Regions from separate parts of the Homo sapiens genome. Here regions 2 and 3 are each linked to region 1. Evidence: promoter capture Hi-C in human tissues and cell types (Jung and others, 2019). All regions are on one chromosome and are shown on one strand. Each heading gives the region's core, a stretch centred on a gene start or on the middle of the fragment in contact. The rest is flanking DNA. Distances are from core to core; before and after follow the strand shown. Region 1 holds the start of SRL (sarcalumenin). Region 2 overlaps SLX4 (SLX4 structure-specific endonuclease subunit). Region 3 has its middle 20 kb from the start of SLX4.

Region 1 (2,920 bases), core at 300-2,799:
TGAGCCCAGGAGTTGGAGACCAGCCCGAGTGACATAGGAAGACCATGTTTGCAAAAAACAAAAAAATTAGCCAGATGTGGTGCACACCTGTATTCCCAGCCCCTCGGAGGTTGAGGTGAGAGGGTGGCTTGAGCCCAGGAGTTCAAGGCTGCAGTGAGCTATGATCGTGTCACTACTCCAGCCAGGGTGACAGAGACCCTGTCTCTTAAAAAAGATTAAAAAAAAAAAAAAAGTCAAGTGCCTACCAGATGCCTAATTCTTTTTTTTTTTTTTTTTTTTTTTGAGACAGAGTCTCGCTCTGTTGCCCAGGCTAGAGTCAGTGGTGCAATCTTGGCTCATGGCAACCTTCGCCTCCTGGGATCAAGTGATTCTCCTGCCTCAGCCTCCTGAGGAGCTGGGATTATAGGCACCCGCCACCACACCCAGTAATTTTTGTATTTTTAGTGGAGATGGGGTTTCACCATGTTGGCCAGGCTGGTCTCAATCTCCTGACCTCAGGTGATCCACCCGCCTCGGCCTCCCAAAGTGCTGGGATTACAGGTGTGAGCCACTGTGCCTGGCCCTGATTTAGTTCCTTTCCTCCAAGGCTGGCTTCTACCTCTTCCCCACACAGTGACACTGTACCCCGACCAGACAAGCAAGTGTCTGCTTTCCCTTGGCTTCTTACAACTGGCTCTCTGGGCCATCTACAAAAAATTTTAAAAAATTAGTACAGCATGGTGGCACTACTGTCCTAGCTACTTGGGAGGCTGAGTTGGGAGGATTGATTGAGCCTGGGAGGTCGAGTGCAGTGAGTGATGATTGTGCCACTGCAGTCCAGCCTGGGTGACAGAGCGAGATCCTCTATCAAAAACAAATAAACAAAAAAGCACTTTGCAGAGGTGACTGAATGTTCTGGAACCCCTGGGCCATTGGAAATGGATATCTGTTGCTCCATCCTCCAGTTTACACCGTAGCCTCAGCTTGTGTCTCAGTGTGCCCCTCTCCCTCTGGTCTGTGCTCTCTCTCTTCCAGAGGCTGGGAAGGTTGTTCCAGGGCTGCAGCCTTGGACCTCAGAGGTCACATGTTGCGGGTTTGCCGTAGCTGACCACTCTCTAGCATGTGGATCAGTGGCTGTTAAATAGGATTTCTTTTGCGTGGCCTTACAACTTCCTCCTTCCAGTGCAGGCGTGTCAAGGTCCTTAACCTGCCGAGACTTCAGGTCAAGTTATTGCAAGTTCTGGGAAGACTCAGCTTCCCAGCTCCACCGCCTGAGCCCAAGGGATGCTCCATTTTATGCCTGTCACCCACGCCCTGTGACCCATGTCATGTGATCCCAGGGCTGCAGGGGTTCGGGGGAAGAGAATCCAGCCACGGCCCTGCCTTCTGGGGCCTGGCAGCTGGGACAGCAGTGGCGCAGCCTGAGCCTCTGCACAGCCTTCTGGGGTCCGGGCTTCTTCCCCATCACACCCTCCTAGTTGCCCTGGTGACTGTGTGACCCCTCTCCCCCCTCCACCGCCTGCTGCCACGGCCGGCCGTATAAATAGAGGCGAGGAGCAGCTGGGCTCTCTTGGCAGTCACCATGAGGGCGCTGGTCCTGCTCGGCTGCCTCCTGGCCTCGCTCCTGTTCTCAGGACAAGCAGGTAGGGCCCCTCCCAGCATGACCCAGCCCAGACTGGTCCCCCACGCTTCCTCCAAGGTTTTCTGTCTACCATGGGTTGGGTAGGGGGTCGGGGCTGATGGCAAACCCTGGCTCTTGGCTGGTGTCTTCTTACCCTTCTCTTTTCCCCGGGCCTGGGGCCTCAGAGAAAGAGCTGGGTGCTGGAGAATAGCAGCACAGTTGCGGGGCCCTCAGGAAGGCCAGAGGAAGTGGGAACGGCAAACAGAGCTGAGCTGTGAGCCAGGGTCAGAGAGGAGTCTGGCCAGTAGATGTGGGAAAGAGGGCCCTCAAAGTCGAGACGGGGGAGCCTCTGAGACGGACAAAATAGCACAGTCTGGGAGCTGGAGGTCGTTGAGGTGACCCTCCCACCTGGTGGGATATAAGGCGGAGGCCCCACTCGGGTAAGAGAACTGGGTTTGCGTGGACAGAAGGGGATACAGTGGGCAAAGGTGGGGACCGTTTTGGGAGCAGTGAGATAGAATTGGAATTGGTTTGGGATAAGATCGGAAATAGAGTTGGCGGTTGGGCTGGAAACAGCATTGGATGCAATTCAGAAGAGGAACGGGGCCCGTTCTGGAGTAGAGCCTCTGCTCGGGGTGGGGGCTTCCATCAGAAAAGGGGCTTGGCTCTGTGTGCTGAGGCTTCCCTTTGACATCTCAGCACTTTGGGTAGCAGAGGTGGTGGCTTGGGTTGCAGCATGGGGGTTATCTATAGGCTATGGAGGAGATGCCAGATTGTTTTGCCACCTCTCTTGTTCCTAAGGTTCCTGAGGCCAGGTTCCCCGAGGGAATGCTTTTAGGGAGGTGCTCCGGGGATCCCCCTAGGATCCGGACTGCCCACCGAGTCTTTTCATGACTCGGCAGTCTTCCCCCAAGCTGGGCTCTGAGCCTAGGTCCGTACCTGGGACTGGAGAGGCCCAGAGTCCAGCCTCTCAGGTCTTTGAGGTTGAATAGGGGGTTGCAGGGGCACAGTCCCTGCAGGGAGAGCAGGCAGTGGGTGGGAACAAAAGCTATTTCTCGGGGACTCAAGATGTAAGGTGGGGGGCTCCAGCCACTGCATGTGCTGCTGGGCCCTGCCCTTGTCTGTCCTTGAGTTAATTTGGGCTCTGCAGGGCTGCAGCGGCTTGAGTGCTGAGTATTCCAGGCGGCTGTCAGGCGGCTAAGTATGGAAACAGCCGCGTAATTGGATCCGGAGCCCCAAGCCGCTGCCACCCTCTCCCTTCGTGGCCGCTCCTGTGCTGCCCCCCAGCCCCAGCTGCTGGGCTGCTACACACTGGGCCCC
Region 2 (2,920 bases), core at 115-2,614, 640 kb after region 1:
TGTTATTGTTATTGATTTATTTACTTACTTAGTTTTTAGAGACAGGATCTTGGTCTCTCACCCAGGCTGGAGTGCAGTGGTGCTATCATAGCTTACTGCAGCCTTGACCTCCCAGGTTCAAGCAGTCCTCCCTGCCTCAGCCTCCCGAGTAGCTGGGACCACAGGCACCCACCACCGTGCCTGGATAATTTTTTAACTGTTTAAAGCAGTTTTCTTGCCCTGCTGCCCTTGGTATACTGAGCTATATGCTTACTACACATTCTTCATGCAAAACTGAAAACTACCCTTGCATATATAATACACCATGGGCTCTCTGAGCTCCTGAGTTCTGTTTCTAAATTTCCTTTGCCCTCACTTCCTGATCTTAATAACCTCTCAGTAGAGTGGTGGTAGAGTCTCAGGTCGCATAGACTACTGGAAGGCATCAGCAGTGTTGCCTCACCAACTTTACTGGTCTCTCGTGCTCTTTGCCAGTCGGATGAAATCTATGCATGGTTCCCCCAAAACACGTATCCATGCGCGTATCTGCAAAACTGGCACACAACTTCATGGGGTTCATGGATCCCCACTGAAGATCATCCGTGGATCCCAAGTTAAAGAAGAACTGATCTAGGACATAAACCTTTGTCATTAATATTTCTTTAATAATAGCTTTATTGGGGTATAATTGATATTCCATAAAATTCACCATTTAAAAGGGTATGGTTCAGTGGTTTTTAGTATATTCACAGACTTGTCCAACCACCACCACTACCTAACGTTAGAACAGTTTTATCATCCTAAAAATAAACCCCATGCTCATTAGCAGTCACATCCCATTCCCCTCCTGTTATTGATATTTATGTCTATATTGCCATAAACAAAGAGGTTACCAACAAGCAACCAGTCCTCTTCACATTTGTGAGTCAAACCTAAACTAGTTGATAAAGGACTCTTGAAACTTGCGTCTAACCTGTATCTGGTAGAAAAGTCTTTTATTTCTCCAGCTACAACAGATGGTTGTGAATATTTTCCTCCTTGCCAGAGAATGTGCCCAACAGCGACTCCCAGCCTCCTCCTTCCTGTTTGACAACAGCAGTGCCAAGTCCCTCCAAACCCCGCACAGCACAATTGGTCCTACAGCGAATGCAGCAGTTCAAGAGAGCAGACCCCGAGCGTTTGAGACACGCTTCAGAAGAGTGCTCCCTCGAGGCTGCGCGGGAAGAAAATGTCCCAAAGGATCCTCAAGAGGAGATGATGGCGGGGAATGGTATGATGAGTGTGTTTCTGTCTTCCACACAGAGATAAGTTAATACAACTCTGAGGAAGGGAGGCGGGAAGGAATCAGCATTTGTTGAGTTTCTTCTGTGGATAGGCTCTCTGCTTGATGTTTTACCTTTGCCACTTCACTGGATCCAGCCAGAGAATGAAGAGTCTCTGGGATCATTTCCCACCTAGCTTCCTTGATAAGGTACCGTTTTGTTTTTTTTTCTGAGACAGAGCCTTGCTCTGTCACCCAGGCTGGAGTGCAGTGACATGATCTCAGCTCACTGCAACCTCCGCCTCCCAGGTTCAAGCAATTATCTTGCCCCAGCCAGTGGGATTACAGACGTGTGCCACCACACCTGGCCAATTTTTGTATTTTTAGTAGAGACAGGGTTTCGCCAAGTTGGCCAGGCTGGTCTCGAACTCCTGACCTCAAGTGATCTGCCTACCTCAGCTCCCCAAAGTGCTGGGATTACAGGCGTGAACCATTGCACCTGGCCCTCTTCCTTTTTTTTTTTTTTTTTTTTTTTTGAGATGGAGTCTCGCTCCGTCACCCAGGCTGGAGTGCAGTGGCACGATATTAGCTCACTGCAAGCTCCACCTCCCAGGTTCACGCCATTCTCCTGCCTCAGCCTCCCGAGTAGCTGGGACTACAGGCTCCCACCACCACGCCTGGCTAATTTTTTGTATTTTTAGTAGAGACAAGGTTTCACCTTGTTAGCCAGGATGGTCTCGATCTCCTGACCTCGTGATCCACCCGCCTTGGCCTCCCAAAGTGCTGGGATTACAGGCGTGAGCCACTGTGCCTGGCCTCCTTTTTTTAAAAATTATGACTTTTTATTATGAAAGCTTTCCCTTTCAGTTTTTTCCTTTTAAAAAGATAACCCTCAGTATTCACAAAGAACTCTTCCTTTCAGAAAAGGTTTTTTTGTTGTTGTTGTTTTAATTACAATGAAGCCAGGCATGATGGCTCATGCCTATAATCCCAAAACTTTGGGAGGCCAAGGCAGGAGGACTACTTGAGGTCACAAGTTCGAGACCAGCCTGGACAACATAGTGAGACCCCCATCTCTACAAAAAAATTTTAGGGGCCAGGCGTGGTGGCTCACGCCTGTAATGCCAGCACTTTGGGAGGCCGAGGTGCGCAGATCACAAGGTCAGGAGATTGAGACCATCCTGGCTAACACAGTGAAACCCCATCTCTATGAAAAATACAAAAAATTAGCAAGGTATGGTGGTGGGTGCCTGTAGTCCCAGCTACTCGGGAGGCTGAGGCAGGAGAATGGCGTGAACCTGGGAGACAGAGCTTGCAGTGAGCCGAGATTGCACCACTGCACTCCAGCCTGGGCAACAGAGCAAGACTCTGACTCAAAAAAAAATTTTTTTTTAATTAGCTGGGCATGATGGTGCACAACTGTAGTCCCAGCTACTCGGGAGGCTGAGGTGGGAGGATTGCTTGAGCCCAGGACGTTGAGCTGCAGTGAGCTGTGATTGCATCATTGCACTCCAGGGCAACAGAGTGAGACCCTGTCTCAAAAAAAAAAAAAAAAAAATTACAATGAATCCCCTAATCCCCTATACCTCAATCTAGATTTAACAAATGTTAACATTTGGCCATTTGTTTATGTCTTTATAAATATACATTTTTTTTTTTTTTTGAGATGGAGTCTTGGTC
Region 3 (2,920 bases), core at 115-2,614, 610 kb after region 1:
CCTGGACAACATGGTAAAACCCCGTCTTTACTAAAAATACAAAAATTACCCAGGCATGGTGGCAGATGCCTGTAATCTCAGCTACTTAGGAGGCTGAGGCAGGAGAATTGCTTGAACCCAGGAGTTGGAGGTTGCAGGGAGCTGAGATCAAGCTACTGCACTCCAGCCTGGGCAACAAGAGTGAAACTCTCGTCTTTAAAAAAAAAAAAAAGAGAGAAAAAATTAAAGAGATGGAAAAAGACATAGCAGGAATCAAAAAGAAAGTCCCAGTGGCTATACTAATTTCAGGCAGAGCAGACTTCAGAGCAAGGAAAATTATCAGGGATAGAAAAAGGACATTACAAAATTATAAAGGAGTATTTCTCTAAGATGAGGTAACAAACCTTATGTGTATACGCCTAACAACAGAGCATCAAAATCCTCAAAGCAAAAACTAAGAACTGCAAGGAAAAGCAGATGAATTCACTATTATAGTTGGAAACTTCAACATCAATCTATCAAAGTGGACAGATCCAGCAGGCAGAAAATCAGTAAGGACATAATGAACTCAACAGCACCATCAAGCAACCAGACAGAATTGACATCTATAGAGCACTTCATCCAACAGCAGCAGGATACACATTCCTCTAAAGCTCACATGGAACATTCACCAAGATAGATCACATTCGGGTCCATAAAACACGCCTTAGCAGACTAATGCATTTAAACAATTATGAGTTTATGTTTTGGGACACACAGTATATAATAATGTAATTTTGTGACAACTGAAAGGGGTGGAGATGAAGCTATAAAGAAGCAGAATTTTTGCATGTTACTGAAATTACGCTGCTATAAATTCAAATTACAATGTTACACAAAATAAAATGAGAAAATAGTTAAACATGTTACTACAAAAAGAAAAAAGAAAACCTACAAAACTCCAGCTAAACACAAAAGAAGACAATAATGCAGGTAATTAGAGATTTTAAAATCCATGGCCGGGTACAGTGGCTCATGCCTGTAATCTCAGCACTTTGGGAGGCCGAGGTGGGTGGATCACCTGAGGTCAGGAGTTCAAGACCAGCCTGCCCAACACGGCAAAACCCCATCTCTACTAAAAACACAAAAATTAGCCGGGCATGGTAGTGCGTGCTTATAATCCCACTACTAGGGGGCTGAGGCAGGACGATCCCTTGAACCTGGGAGGTAGAGGTTGCAGTGACCTGAGATCATGCCACTGCACTCCAGCCTGGGCAACAGAGCGAGACTCCGTCTCAATTTAAAAACAAAACAAAACAAAAAAACCTATAAGGTGGCTGGGCACAGTGGCTCACACCTGTAATCTCAGCACTTTGGGAGGCCGAGGCAGGTGGATCACCTGAGGTTAGTAGTTCGAGACCAGCCTGACCAATATGGTGAAACCCTTTCTCTACTAAAAATACAAAAATTAGCTGGGTGTGGTGGGGGGCACTTGTAGTCCCAGCTACTAGGGAGGCTGAGGCAGGAAAATTCCTTGAATCTGGGAGGCAGAGGTTGGTTGCAGTGAGTCAAGATTGCCACTGCACTCCAGTCTGGGCAACAGACCAAGACTCTGTCTCAAAAACAAAACCAACAAAAAAACCCAAAAAATTAGCTGGGTGTGATGGCATGCGCCTGTAGTCCCAGCTACTTGGGAAGCTGAGGCAGGAGAATCGCTTGAACTCAGGAGGCGGAGGTTGCAGTGAGCCAAGATTGCACCACTGCACTCCAGCCTGGGTGACAGCAAAACTCCATCTCTAAAAAAATAAATAAATAAAATCCTATAAGGTATATAGAAAAGAAACAGCAAAATGACATAAGTCTTTCCTGATCAGTAACTAAGTGTAAATTGATTAAACTCTCCAATCAGAAGACAGAGATTGGCAACGTGGAAAAAAACTACATTACCCAATTATATGCCATCTATAAGAAACTTACTTTTTTATTTTTACTTTTATTTTTAGAGAGACAGGGTCTCTCTATGTTGCTCAGGCTAGATTTGAACTCCTGGGCTTAAGCAATCCTCCTGCCTCATCCTCCCAAGTAACTGGGACTACAAAAAAGAATCACTTTAGATCCAAAGACACAACTAGATTGAAAGTCAAAGGATGGAAAAACATATTCCATGCAAACACTAACCAAAAGAGAGCAGGGCTCTATTACTATAAGACAAAAGAGACTTTAAATTTAAAAAAAAGATTAAAAAAGGACATTATATAAAGGTTCAATACAGCAAGAAGATAAAATTATAAACAGATTACAACTAATAACAGACCATCAAAATATATAAAGCAAAACTGACAGAATTGAAGGGAGAAATAGCCAGAAACAGTGGCTCATGCCCGTAATCCCAGACTTTGGGAGACTGAGGTGGGCAGATGTCTGAGCTTTGGAGTTCAAGGCCAACCTGGGCAACATGGAGAAAACCTGTCTCTACAAAAAAGTACAAAAATTAGCCAGGTGTGGTGGCGTGTGCCTGTGGTCCCAGCTACTTGGGGCGCCAAGGTGGGAAGATCGTTTTGAGCCTGGGAGGTCGAGGCTGCAGCGAGCTGTGATCACGCAACTGCACTCCAGTCTGGGTAACAAAGTGAGACCCCGTCTCAAAAACAACAACAACAAAAACAACAAAAAACAAAACAACAACAAACACACACACACACACACACAACAAAAAACAAACAAGGGCTGGGCGTGGTGGCTCACGCCTGCAAGCCAGCACTTTGGGAGGCCGAGGTGGGCAGATCACCTGCGGTTAGGATTTTGAGACCAGTCTGGCCAACATGGTAAAATCTCATCTCCACTAAAATAAAAATACAAAAATTAGCCGCGCATGGTGGCGGGTGCCTGTAGCCCCAGCTACTTGGGAGGCTGAAGCAGGAGAATCGCTTGAACCCAGGAAGCAGAGGTTGCAGTGAGCCAAGAT

What was found. The method cuts DNA at HindIII sites, captures the fragments that hold promoters and counts their contacts. A contact is called where the count stands out against the background at its distance.
Region 2: a fragment that was not itself captured here is called in contact with the fragment with the promoter of SRL in region 1 in 1 of the 25 tissues and cell types used here (dorsolateral prefrontal cortex).
Region 3: a contact is called between a fragment that was not itself captured here and the fragment with the promoter of SRL in region 1, in 1 of the 25 tissues and cell types used here (dorsolateral prefrontal cortex).

The regions. Positions count from the first base shown.
Region 1 is chr16:4,240,709-4,243,628 of GRCh38, reverse strand. SRL (sarcalumenin) reads left to right here and starts at 1,549. Exons shown (of 6, transcript NM_001098814.2): 1 at 1,549-1,622. The coding sequence starts at 1,562. The HindIII fragment of the contact is 19,223 bases long and covers 1-2,920 here.
Region 2 is chr16:3,604,803-3,607,722 of GRCh38, reverse strand. SLX4 (SLX4 structure-specific endonuclease subunit) reads left to right here. Exons shown (of 15, transcript NM_032444.4): 3 at 1,025-1,249. Among named protein-coding and RNA genes, the nearest start is that of SLX4, 5.3 kb to the left of the region's middle. The HindIII fragment of the contact is 4,547 bases long and covers 1-2,920 here.
Region 3 is chr16:3,629,878-3,632,797 of GRCh38, reverse strand. It overlaps a transcript of DNASE1 not described here. Among named protein-coding and RNA genes, the nearest start is that of SLX4, 20 kb to the right of the region's middle. The HindIII fragment of the contact is 7,090 bases long and covers 1-2,920 here.